Linked DNA regions of Homo sapiens: region 2 is linked to region 1. Evidence: promoter capture Hi-C in human tissues and cell types (Jung and others, 2019). All regions are on one chromosome and are shown on one strand. The core of a region is centred on a gene start or on the middle of the fragment in contact, and the rest is flanking DNA. Distances in the headings are between cores, read along the strand shown.

What was found. Contacts are between HindIII fragments. The study calls those that stand out against the background at their distance.
Region 2: a fragment that was not itself captured here is called in contact with the fragment with the promoter of C2orf15 in region 1 in 1 of the 25 tissues and cell types used here (dorsolateral prefrontal cortex).

The regions. Positions count from the first base shown.
Region 1 is chr2:99,139,096-99,145,468 of GRCh38, reverse strand. C2orf15 (chromosome 2 open reading frame 15) reads right to left here and starts at 3,762. Exons shown (of 4, transcript NM_144706.4): 1 at 3,532-3,762; 2 at 3,068-3,184. The region is part of intron 1 of TSGA10 (testis specific 10); the gene reads left to right. RefSeq lists an enhancer at 3,025-3,831 and silencers at 4,053-4,362, 4,433-4,502. The HindIII fragment of the contact is 7,971 bases long and covers 275-6,373 here.
Region 2 is chr2:98,472,885-98,479,257 of GRCh38, reverse strand. All of the region lies in intron 1 of INPP4A (inositol polyphosphate-4-phosphatase type I A), which reads right to left. Among named protein-coding and RNA genes, the nearest start is that of INPP4A, 31 kb to the right of the region's middle. The HindIII fragment of the contact is 4,957 bases long and covers 1,025-5,981 here.

The DNA of each region.
Region 1 (6,373 bases), core at 2,513-5,012:
CTCGTGCCTCAGCTCCCAAGTAGCTGGGATTACAGGTGCCTGCCACCACGATCAGTTAATTTTTGTATTTTTGGGGAGAGACAGGGTTTTGCCATGTTGAACAGGCTGGTCTTGAACTCCTGACCTCAAGTGATCCACCTGCCTTGGCCTCCCAAAATGCTGGGATTATAGGTGTGAGTCACCGCACCTGCCACACAAGAGTCTTTAGAAGTGAAAGAGGGAGGTAGAATGTGTTAGCCATGATGCAATGTGAGGAGGACTTGACTGGCCATTTTTGGCGTTGAATATAGACTGGGATCACAAGCCAAGGAACATGGGCTGCCAGTAGAAGCTGGAAAGGCAAGAAAGGGGATTTTCCCCTAGAGCCTCCAGAAGGAATGTAGACCTGCCTGACATCTTGATTTTAGCCCAGTGAGACCCAATTTGAACTTGTAAATCTCCAGAACCGTGTGATAATAAATTTGTGTTGCTTAAAGACACCAAGTGTGTGGTAAATTGTTGCACAGCCGTAGCAAACAACTCTACTAGCAAGCACTCTCTCCTGTCTCTTTGCCTTATTCGACCCCAGACCTATCACCCCATTGCTGTTCCTCAAGCATATTCTATGCCAAACCTTCTCCTGCTTCAGGACCTTTGCACTTACAGTTCCCCCAGCCTGAAGCAATTTTTGCATTGCAAACCACATCCCTTGAGGATAGTTAGTGACATGGGGCCTGGAACTGTGAAGAATGGCAGACTTCTGCTGCTAGTCATGATGGAGTAACAGAGACCAGACTTATCCTCATGCTTTCAGCATCTTTTTTTTTTTTTTTTTTTTTTGAGACAGAGTTTTGTTCTTGTCCCCCAGGCTGGAGGGCGATGGCACGATCTCGGCTTACCGCAACCTCTGCCTCCCGGGTTCAAGCAAGTCTCCTGCCTCAGCCTCCCGAGTAGCTGGATTACAGGCATGAGCCACCGTGCCCCGCCTGCTTTCAGCATCAAAACACAAAACACATGAAGCAATGGCTTTTAGATATTGGACAACAGGCAGTTCGGGAGAGTGATCCTTGAGAAACAGGAAATAAAGTGAGCCCTATGAATGGACATTGCCTGGAACTTTCAGGCCTCGGCATAAGGAGGAAACTCTCTGATTTAAAAAACGGAACACAGGCCGGGCGCGGTGGCTCATGCCTGTAATCCCAGCACTTTGGGAGGCCGAGGCGGGCAGGTCATGAGGTCAGGAGATCGAGATCATCCTGGCTAACACAGTGAAACCCCGTCTCTACTAAAAATACAAAAAAATTAGCCGGGCGTGGTGGTGGGCGCCTGTAGTCCCAGCTGCTCGGGAGGCTGAGGCAGGAGAATGGCGTGAAGCCGCGAGGCAGAGCTTCCAGTGAGCGGAGATCGCGCCACTGCACTCCAGCCTGGGAGACAAAGCGAGACTCCATCTCAAAAAAACAAACAAAAAAAAGGAACACAGCATCAGTGAGCTGTGGAACAAGATCAAGTGGCTTAACACATATGGAATTGGAGTCCCAGATTTTTTTTTGAGGGGATCAGGAAGAGGACAGTGAAAACAAAACAAAAAATAGTAATAACAGAGGTTTTTGTAGTGAAGCTTTTGAAATGATGGAAAAATTAAGGGACTAGAAAACCAAGACCTTAGAAGGTGTCTGTCACGAGAGAGCAAGCACAGGGTACTATATAAGGCTTAGCCTGGGCCAGGCACAGTGGCTCATGCATATAATCCCAGCACTTGGGATGCTGAGGTGGGTGGATCACTTGAGTCCAGGAGTTCAAGACCAGCCTGGGCAACATGGTGAAACCGCATCTCTACAAAAACATACAAAAATTAGCTGGGCATGGTGGCACATACCTGTGGTCCCAGCTACTCAAGGGGCTAAGGCAGGAGAACTGCTTCAACCTGAAAGGTGGAGGGTGCAGTGAGCTGAGATCATGCCAACGCACTCCAGCCTGGGTACAGGGCAACAGAGTGAGACTCTGTCTTAAAAAAAAGGAAAAAAAAAAAAAGTCTGGGCGCAGTGGCTCACACCTGTAATCCCAGCACTTTGGGAGGCTGAGGCGGGTGGATCATGAGGTCAGGAGATCAAGACCATCCTGGCTAACACAGTGAAACCCTGTCTCTACTAAAAATACAAAAAACAAAAAACAAACAAAAAAAAAGCTGGGCGTAGTAGTGGGCGCCTGTAGTCCTAGCTACTTGGGAGGCTGAGGCAGGAGAATGGCATGAACCCGGGAGGCGGAGGTTGCAGTGAGCCGAGATCGTGCCACTGCACTCCAGCCTGGGCGACAGAGTGAGACTCTGTCTCAAAAAAAAAAAAAAAAAAAAAAAAAAGGTTTAGTTGGGGCAGGGTGGGACACTCACTACCCCTTGGGTTTCCACAGAGGGAAGGAAATTTTTACTTTCTCAGGTTAGGGGAGAAAGTCAACAGTTCTTGATAGGAAAAAAAAGGAAAATCTTTTCACCCTCTTTTGGCCTTAAAATGATCATTTCCTTATATTCTTTCCAAATAATCTTCAGTACCGTCTAGGTGGCATACATAAGTGCTTAAACTTTTCTTATTCTTTCTATAAGGGAAGTACTTTCCTACTTCCTATATTAATAATCTCCCCACCCCCGAAGTCTTCAACTCCAGCTGATAGTTTTAAACTTAGAACATTCTTTCCTATTTGTTTTTAATAATGCTAGATAATGTATTCAAAATAATCTTAGTATCTGAAGAGGAAATGAGATTATACATTATTCCCTCTAACATAACTTCTCAGTTTGTTATTTTGTGCATTTAAAAAATTACATTTCCGAGGATATGTGCTCCTTGTGTCCTCTAACCTCTTAATCTAAAATAACAGGGACACTTAATTTTTTTTGGTATCTAATTATACTTACAAAGTATATGATATCTGAAAATAAATGCGACAAAATATGAGACCATGTAATAACACGATGAAAAGACATTGGAAAAACATGGCATTTATATTAAATGTATTTTTATGACTAAATTTGTTCTACACAAAAGTTGTTTATCCCTGCCAATGATATCTTGTGGGGGGAAAAATGAGTACTCACCTGGCGAAAACAGGAATTGTTAGTCTCCTCAAACGAGAGCTTACTCTTGAAATACACAGCGTTCTACCATATCAAGGTCATCAGAGAATTGCTGTAAAAACCTAGTGTCTATGTCATCTGCAGGAAAAGGAGATAAAGTCACCATTATCATCCAGAAGCTCTTGAGTTATTTAAGAAGGGACATGGTAGGTATTAAGAAAAATTAAGAAGACTTTTTTCCCCCCCATTCTGGGCTCCAAAAAATTGGTAGAAGAATGCAGCGCTCATTCTTTTTCACTAAAAAGCTCATTTGTCACTTTAAGGTGAGGGGATTTGGAAAAGGACTGGCATGTGGAGAAGGAATATCGGTCAGGAATCTGGACTTTGTTGCTAGATCTGCCACTTCCTGATTCAGCCCTGATCGTGCAGAGCTGACCAAGGCCGTGGTCCCCAGGCTCCCCTGACTCCAGGCTGCCCACGCTCACCGGGACAGGCCGGCTCGCTCCCTGCAGGCTGCAGCGGGAGGGCTGGACCTGGAAGCCTCTCTTAAAACGGGCCCTGGCTGCAGCAGGAGCTGCGCCCGAAAGCAGCTCTGAGAGTAACCGGTTCACCGAACATGGGTCCAGAATGATGCCCAAGCCCTGGGAAAAGTGGCACAAAGCCACCGCCGCGAAGCAGCAGGTGTTTCAAGCTGAGGGAAGGCGGGGCTGCGAGAGACAGCCTTGCGCATGCGCGTTCCATCCAGGTGCGGCAGCCTCAGGCAGAGATTAAGAAATGAGTCGTGGAAAAGGGGGCTAGCGGCTGGTTACTAGGAGACGGGACGCTCGGCTCGGGCGTCTAGGCGCTGCGTGGGCGTGCGCCTGCGCGGCGCGGATGGGCCAGGAAGGGGTCCCTCCTAGGTGCCCTGTAAGGCAGGCAGGTAGACGTACGCGTCGCTCCGTGCGTAGGAGCGCGCGCACGGCTTGTAGACCCCGCGAGAAGGAAGGTCGAGCCAGGTACGCGTGCGCACCGGGCCTGGGGGCGAGCGGGACGGAAGCAAAGCTGGGGCGCCGGGGAGGTGGAAGACGAGCCCCACTCCGGTACAGAGCGTGAGGGCGGGGCCACGGCGGCACTGGCTGGCGCTAACCGCCCCCTCCTCCTTCCCGCGGGCTCCGTCCTTCCTCCGATCCGCCGGGGCGGGGCCAGGACGATTTGGGGGTGGGAAGGGAGGAGAAAGGGGCGGAGGATGGAGAGTGGGCGGTTCTTGTATCCCCCGCTGAGGCCGAGAGCTGACAGTCGCGGGGATGAGCTCTGGGCAGGACGGCGGGCCGAGGAGCCCGGGGAGGGACCCGGAGCTCCAGGTAGAAGCTGCGGAGGTGCGCGGGGTGGGGAGAGTGCTGCTACTGGACTGGAAGGTCTCTGAGAAGGCGGCTGCAAGCGGGCAGGAGTGGCGGGTGCGGGGCCGTGGCGGGCGGAGTTGGGCGCTAGCAGCGGGAGCGGCTGTGAGGGGCAGCGGCGGGCACAGCTGCCGGCCGGAAGCTCGGCAGCACGAGTTGCCCCTGTTTCTTGGGAGGTTAGGTTTGAGCCCAGTTCCTATGGTCACTGCTTCGCGTCCTCCCGCAGCTCTCCGCTTGGTTGTTGGGGAGACTGTTCAGTTTAGAAACGCTCTGGAAGCTCTGGTGGAGCCGAGGAATTTGGAAGTCACAGATTTGGGAGTTCAGCCTGACTCCCGATCGCTCATTTCTGAGCCTCTTTCTAGACTTGGGGTGGTGAAAGGCTGAGATTACATAGGCATTTGCATGAAAATCTCAGATAATTTTAGTAAAAATTATACACAGTAAAGGCAGGGAAAGCTGGCTTTTGTTGAAAAACTATTTGAGACTTAAATTGGATAACTAGGTGATCATGGACTTGATACCTAAAAACTCACAGAAATATGGTTTTTTTTCACTTTTTTTTTTTCGCAGCTTCGGGAAAGTTTGCATAGATTATAGTGTCCCAACGTTTTCCTTCTTCCATTCCAGGACCTTATATCCTAGGAGATTTCCTTGTTTAAAATTTTCTGTACTGGTGTTCAGCATTTCAAGTATACTTTGTTTACGTGTAAGGACATAAGTAGAATAACAATAGGTTTGTAAGTAGAAAAAAACAGGTTAGTTATAGAAGTAGGATGTCGCATTCGAATCTGCTTCCAGGATAAGACAGATTCTTGTTTGTATTTTAATTGATTAATGAGCCAAACTCTTCAGTCTTAATTAGTGGGAAATAACTAGGACGGTACATTAATTAAATATTAATTTTAAATCCTAAACTTTGGCATTATTTAATGGCAGCTTCCACAATATCTCGCGTACTGTTTACCTTCTGAAGAAAAATCACTGCCTGTAGCCCAGAATATAATCAGGTGTAGAGATTCTCTGGGAGATCTTTTCTGTCTTCTTTTTGAGTTGCTTAGACTAGTTTGTTTAGGACGATTTGGTTTTGAAGTCCTCCATACACAGAGGCAGTTAGAGGTATTACTATTTATCACCTTTTCAGATTACATATTTCTTTCCCTCCCCAGAGATAGCCACTCTCCTGACTTCTAAGATAGCCACTTCCTTGATTTTCCTTAATGTTTCACATCATTGTATGTGAACATGCACATTACAGTTTGGCTTGTTTTTGAACTTCGAATGGAATTGTACTAAGTATTCATTTACATCTTGCTTCTTTACTCAACATTTTTTTTAAGATTAATCTTTATTGTTGCTCGCAGTATTTAGTTTGCTGATTGTTTCCCAAAATATTTATCCACTTATTTTTATTATATAAAATACTCTCTCAGAATTATTCATAAATCTTGTATGGTTTTCCACATCCTTCTGTTAGTGAGGCAGTTCCTTTCTACTTCAATGTCTATAAGTCTACACTTTTGGAGACAATATTTTTAAAAAGAAAAACCCACCTCAACTGTAGTAAGCTTTTGTGGAACCAGATTTCAGAATTCCATTGAAGTACTCCAGTATTTTCCATTCTATCAAAAAATCAATAATTTGTTGAATACATATTATGTGCTTCATATTTTGCTCAACACCGATGATACTTTTTATTATATAATCTTAGCTCCTGTTTCACTGAAAAATTAAAATTCAACCAGACAGAAACTTCCTCAGATTTCCATGACACTTACCTTTTTTTTTTGAGACATGATCTCACTGTCGCTCAGGCTGGAGTGCAGTGGTGCGATCATGACTCATTGCAGCCTTGACCTCCCGGGCTCAAGTGATTCTCCTATCTCAGCCTCCCAAGTAGCTGGGACCACAGGTGGATGCCACTATGCCTGGCTAATTTATTTTTTAATTTTTG
Region 2 (6,373 bases), core at 2,254-4,753, 670 kb after region 1:
GGGGACAGGAGCACCTCCCCACACTTCTAAAATTAGAAGTGCCACCAATTAGCACCAAAATAAGTAGCCTAGTTTGGGGAAGGTGATAAAAATCAGCGAATAATATCTTGAGTGGGGAGTGGAACAGGAACAAGCACTCTAGGGCAACTGGAAGTGTGGTCTGTGAACTGGCAGTAGCAGTACCACCCAGGAGCCGGGAGGAAGTGCCCGACCTATGAAGGCTGACTCCCTGTGGGTAGGGCCCAGTATCTGCATTGAACAAGTCTTCTAGGTGACTGCTAGGCATTCAAGTTGGAGTAGCTATCTCTAGCCTGCCATCTTCGAAAGATGCCTGAAGACTTACACAATTATTTCCAGTTAAGTCCTAACAATCTACAAAAAAACCGGACCTCTTTCTTTTCAAAAAACAGAAAAATAGCACCACCACAGAAAGTCATGGGTGCGGGCTGCATTCATGCTCAGCTAGAACTGAATGCAGAGTAAGTCAGGACAGAATAGGACAGACACATACCTGCAACCTTCTCGGAAATCCATCACACCCTTCTACCCTCACCCCCTCAACCTTCCTACTCCCATTCACCCTATTCTCCCCAGCTGGGGCAGGGACCCTCTTCACAGCCACATTGGTAACCATCAAAAAGGTCAAAAGAGATCACCATGATTTGTTGCAAAGAAAGTCGGGGGAGGGAGTGCCCAGAGTTAACTCCACTAACTAGGGATCAGGGGTGTGCTCTGCCACCCCTACCCCCACAGCCCTGCCTCGCCTTGACTCTAACAGCAGCGCAGGTCTGGTGGAGAGGCACTCAGCTGGACTGCAAGGCTGGCTCAGCTTCTCACACCCTGGACCTCAGATCGGCAGAGAAGCCATCCAGGAACAGAGCCTTGTAAAAGCTCCCTGGACTTGGAGCAGTCCTGGTCCCAAGCGACAGGAATCCTCCTCTCTGGTGGCCACCTCCCTCATCAGTCATGACGAGGCCTCCACCAAGAGCAGGGCCTGCCTGAGGCTGTGCTCCTGGGTGGGAGGGAGGACACTGTGACTTAAACACAGTGTGGCTGAGAAAGAAAAAGGAAACACCCGCAAATTAAAGTGCGCTCTATTTTAGCTTTAAACACACATCCCTCCCACCTACGGCAGTGTCCAAAATAGCACATCCTATTTTAGGGAGATCAGAGGCAGTTCCTCAATAGGCTACAAAATAGACCTGGAGTTTGGAGACCAGCACCGCACAATAACAGTAGGTTGTAGGCCGCAGGGACTGCACTCGCACTGAATCCACCTCCCACTCCAGTCCCATTTTAAAGGCCAGAAGACCTAGGCCTCAAGAGCTAGCACGGCTGCTGGTGGTCCTCCTGACTCAAATTCTGCCCTCTCCATTTCCAATCCATGCCATGTGGCTCTCTTCCCACAGCAGGGCCCAGGCTGTCCACATTAGAGGGGCCCTTAGCCTCTCCTCCCTCATCCAACCGCTGTCTCCTGGGCAAGACCCACACAGGGCAGGGAGAGGTAAAAGGCAGGGTGAGGTAGAGGGAGAAAGCCTCTGTTCATCAGACTCCTGGACTCTGGGTTGAACAAGGATAGTCACTAACGGAGGGACTGAGACAGCCATGGTCTTGTTCACTCACAAAGAGAGAGCAGTTTCTACAAGACCAACGTTGACAGTTCCTGGAGATACAGGGCAGGAGAGAGGCAATCAACAGCCAAAATGGCCCAAGACTCGCCGACATTGAGGCTCTGGTTCATCCTCTGTTGTTAGGCTGTGGTCTGGTAACATGGTGTCCAAGTATCTCAGAGAAAGGCTGTAAAGCTGCCCCTAGAATCTGGAAACGGGTCAGGAACAGTCACTTGCTCAGTACTAGGACTCCCATGGCTATGGTTTCCCTACCAGGCAGGAAGACCAAGCTGTACCACCACACCATTCAGGACAAAGAGCCAAGAAGCGTGCCTGAAGCAGGCAGCTCAGGGAGACGGGACGGCGGGGGAGCTGCACACAGCATGCTGTGCATGGCCCCAGAGCCAGACCATCCGGGCTCCAACCCCAACTGCCGCTCACCCGCCACGCTACACGTCCCCAGGGAGAACTCATTTCACCTTCTGCTCCTCAGTCTCCTGCTCCTGAAATGGGTGTTACAGAATCATCTACTTCATGGGGTTACTGCAAGAATCAGATGACTTAATCCCTCTAAATGTGCCCAGTGCACAAAAATGCTACTTAAGTATTTGCCACTATTACTACTACCACTCCTGCTAAGCCCATCTGACAATCAGATACCCCAGAGGCTCTTCTAGCCATCCAGAAACAGGGGGATGGAGGCACTCAGGCCATGCCGCTGGATCAAGGACAGCAAGGAAGGGGCTGTGAGTACCCAGAGAACAGGGAACACTTATAACGGCAAACAAGGCCTTGAAGAAGGTTAATTACTGTTAAAAGTACAAACTTAACCCGCTATCGTCACAGGCCAGGAAGAGAACGGGCTGGAGGGCCCCATGAGAATTTCTGGAAGACAGGAAGGGAGGCAAGGCTATCTTGGCCATTCTCAGGTGATGGTGAATGAGGCAAACCACTGTGGAAACCATGAGCGCAGAGGGAGGTGGGCCCTGCTGGACACGCTTCAGAATGCCCATCACTCCCCTCTGAGCCAGGAGAGGTCTCCAGGAGCGCCACCCCTCCCCCAAGCAGGGCTCCTCCCCACACACACCCCAGGGCTGGGTCCCAGCACCCCAGCTGAGAGCCTCCCTGACTGTGGCTGGAGACCAGATACCTAAAGGGGGCTTGGTGAAGGAGAGCTCTTCCCCAGAGCGAGGGGCCCACCCTGGAGGAGAAAGTCCCTGCTCTGAGCTCCTGGGTGTGAACCCTCCCGAGGGACAGCAAACAGGGCCATTACTGCTCAAATGTGGAGCTTAGCATGTCTTAGTTTGACTGGGCATCCAGCCAGGCATTACTTTAATATACAACCCTAAAGCTTAGTCAAACTATCACTGGCTTGTGTGTCCTGGCAACACCTGGCCCTAAAACTGGGAATCACCTAGCACCAAATAAGAGAAATTAAAATTCCAGGAACAATCGAAACTCAAATTTTAAAAGTTTCTACAATGTGAATCTTCATTATCCTATGTACCCATTCTAATTAAATTCTTCAAAAAGTTTTGGGATGGTAAAAATTTCATGTGGCAAGTCTGACTCATTAAGGAGAAAAACATAGGCAAAATCACATTGCAAAGACTTGTTACCACAAAGCTATTTGGAGTTGATTTCAGTAAAATTCTGCATCAAATCTGGATTACCTGTGGGTGGATTAAACATTTGTAGATTAGCCTTGATAAAAAAATGAGAAGATAGTGCATTTGTGGAAAAAAATTTAAAATAAAAACCATTATAACAGCATTCCACACTGTTATTTAAAATTAGTGGCAGGCAAGGTGGACACACAGGCTCCCCCCGCCCCAGAGGCCCATCCCTGCCCACTATGGGTAGTACTGCTCCCCTCCTCCCAAAGCCCCCACCCCAGGTGAGAAAAGCAGGTAGAAGGGAGAGGGTGGCTGAACCCCAGCCCTGCCCACACAGCCCAGCATGCCCCAGCAAACAGCAGGAGACTACAACCATTGTTGGTCATGCAATGTAATACTGACGCCTAAAGCAAAAAAACAAAGTATCTGTAAATGTTCAATGTCCTGCTAAATTTTACAAGTAATTTCAGCCAGATTAAATGTATTTTGCACTATATTCTGACTACTTCTGTGTTACCCATAGTTTTGCTTTCCTCCAAGGCTTATGCTCCCTCTCCTACCTCATCTGTCATCCTGGTTGGTCAAGAGACAAATTTAAATAGCTGAGAAAGAAAGATGACCTCAGAACTTGAAACACCGCCCATGGGGTTTTAGAGGTCTCTCTTAATTTGTAAATCTAATGGGCTAATAACTCCCTGGCTTAAATCCCCTCTGTGGCTCTCGGCACACACAGAATGCAGCATGAAGTTGCACCCAGGATGGATCTCCTGGCCCTCCTCTGTCTCCCAAGCTTCCTAAGTACCACACTCACAAGCTGCTCCCGACAGCATCTCACAAGTGCCCTCTCTATGCCTTTGCTCAGCTGTCCGCTCCACTTAAGAGTGCCCCTCCTGTTCTTGTCTGCTTGACAATTTGTACTCATGCTACATGACCAATTTAAACAGCAATTTCCCTGTAAAGTTTCACCCACTTCCAGACAGAAATAAATACCCTCTGCTTATTGTGACATGGCCCTTTCTGTTGCCACAAAGAAAAAAAACTTCTGATACAGTGTACACCCTTGTCTCCTGTAGCTCCTTAGGAGAAGGGCCTAAGTCATCTTTAACTCTTCATCTTTAACAAAGCTGAGCCACTGCAGGAGCCCCAAATAAGCTTTTATTAAGTGATTAATTAAAAATAACTTTTGTATCCCCCAGGGCCCCAGATGGGTTTGGTGCATAAGAAAACTTATTTGAAGATGTTTTTATCCATGAAATAGAATTTTTTTAAAAAACACCAACCTGTAACTATGAAATTCCTGCACCTCACTTAGGCTGATGCTGATGGCAATCTGCAAAGAGAGGCTGCCAAATGTCAGGGTGATGGCACCCAGGTGAGATGGGTCTGCTGCCTCCCAGGGCATCAAGGTACAACAAAGGCCCAGGGCTAGGGCCAGAAGCCTGGTTTGGGTCTTGTCTGTCACTCACCAAGCAGGAGGGCCCGGGCAGGCCATTCACCTGCTCTGGCTCTCCCCATAATGCCTGTGGGGTGAGCGGCCATGTGGTGCCAGCGTGGGCTCATCCCACCCAGGGCTCTTCGTAGCACAGGTGGAACTGGATCTTTAAGATATTCCACATTATAGAGAAGACAACACAATAGAGCAAAAAGCAAGCTCCCAACCCCAACTACTTCAGAGATGTCCTTTTGTGTAAGAATCCTGCTTCAAAAAACAAAATCCACTCTTGGGCCTCACCAAGCACTGGGAAGGCTGCGGGTGGCCCTCGCCCACTGCACCATGGACACCAAAACCCACACACACAGGCCGCTCTTGAGGCTGTCAAAGTGATATTAGATACCACAAATGCAGAAAGGGAAAGAATGGGAGGCTGAAATCAAAACCAAAAGTGACTTCACAACCTGCATATACAGCTTTCCAAACAAGCTGCTCAAACGAATGCACACTCCAGAAGAAAGAGGGTATGAAAACGTCCATGTCTGTATATGGCAGACTGCCCCCGAAGGGCTCACAAAAATGCTGGGCAAACTGCTTGCCTCTGGGGAGAGGAACTGGAAGGCAAAGTGGGAGAGGTGATTCTTCTCGATATATCACTTTGTAATTTTTGAATGAGACCAAAGGTAATACCTTCATAGCATGTAATTATGTGAGATATGTAATGCCCTCAAACAGAAGTTATGAAAATGTCCCACAGTAAATAAACTTATCTTCCCCAATCACATGTATTACCTTTCCAACATGTTTTCATGCAATCACCTGGTGAAGTGGAAAATCAAGATACTAAAGGCCTGGATCCACTTTTTAATGCTGTGTGACCCTGGGTGCCATCCGCCCACCCACCAAGACTCCAGAGGTAGCAACCGGCTTATGGTCACCATCTGGCCCGGGTGAGGTCACTCACTGAGTGGCACCTCCTGAGAGGCCCTGACCACATTGTAACCCATCATGGCCAGTGCCCAGAGTAAGGAGGGGAAGCAGGTGGCCCACCACACGGTGTCAGCCCCTCTACACTGCACCTACACTGCCCTCCACACTCTCAACTGCACCCACACTGCCCTCAACACTCTCCACTGTCCCCACACTGTCCTCCTCACTCTCCACTGTCCTCACACTGCCCTCAACACTCTCCACTGTCCTCACACTGCCCTTCTCACTCTCCACTGTCCTCACACTGCCCTCCTCACTCTCCACTCCACCCACACTGCCCTCCTCACTCTCCACTCCACCCGCACTACCCGCCACACTCTCCACTCCACCCACACTACCCGCCACACTCTACACTGCACCCACACTGCCCTCCACACTCTCCACTGCACCCACACTACCCTCCACTCTCTCCACTCCACCCACACTGCCCTCCTCACTCTCCACTGCACCCACACTGCCCTCCACACTCTTCACTGCACCCACACTGCCCTCCTCACTCTACACTGCACCCGCACTGCCCTCCTCACTCTCCACTGCACCCACACTGCCCTCCTCACTCTTCACTGCACCCACACTGCCCTCCACACTCTTCACTGCACCCACACTGCCCTCCTCACTCTACACTGCACCCGCACTGCCCTCCTCACTCTACACTGCACCTACAATACACTCCTTTCTCCTGCCTAGGGCACTCCCACACTGTGGCAAGCAGAAGTGCAGCTCAG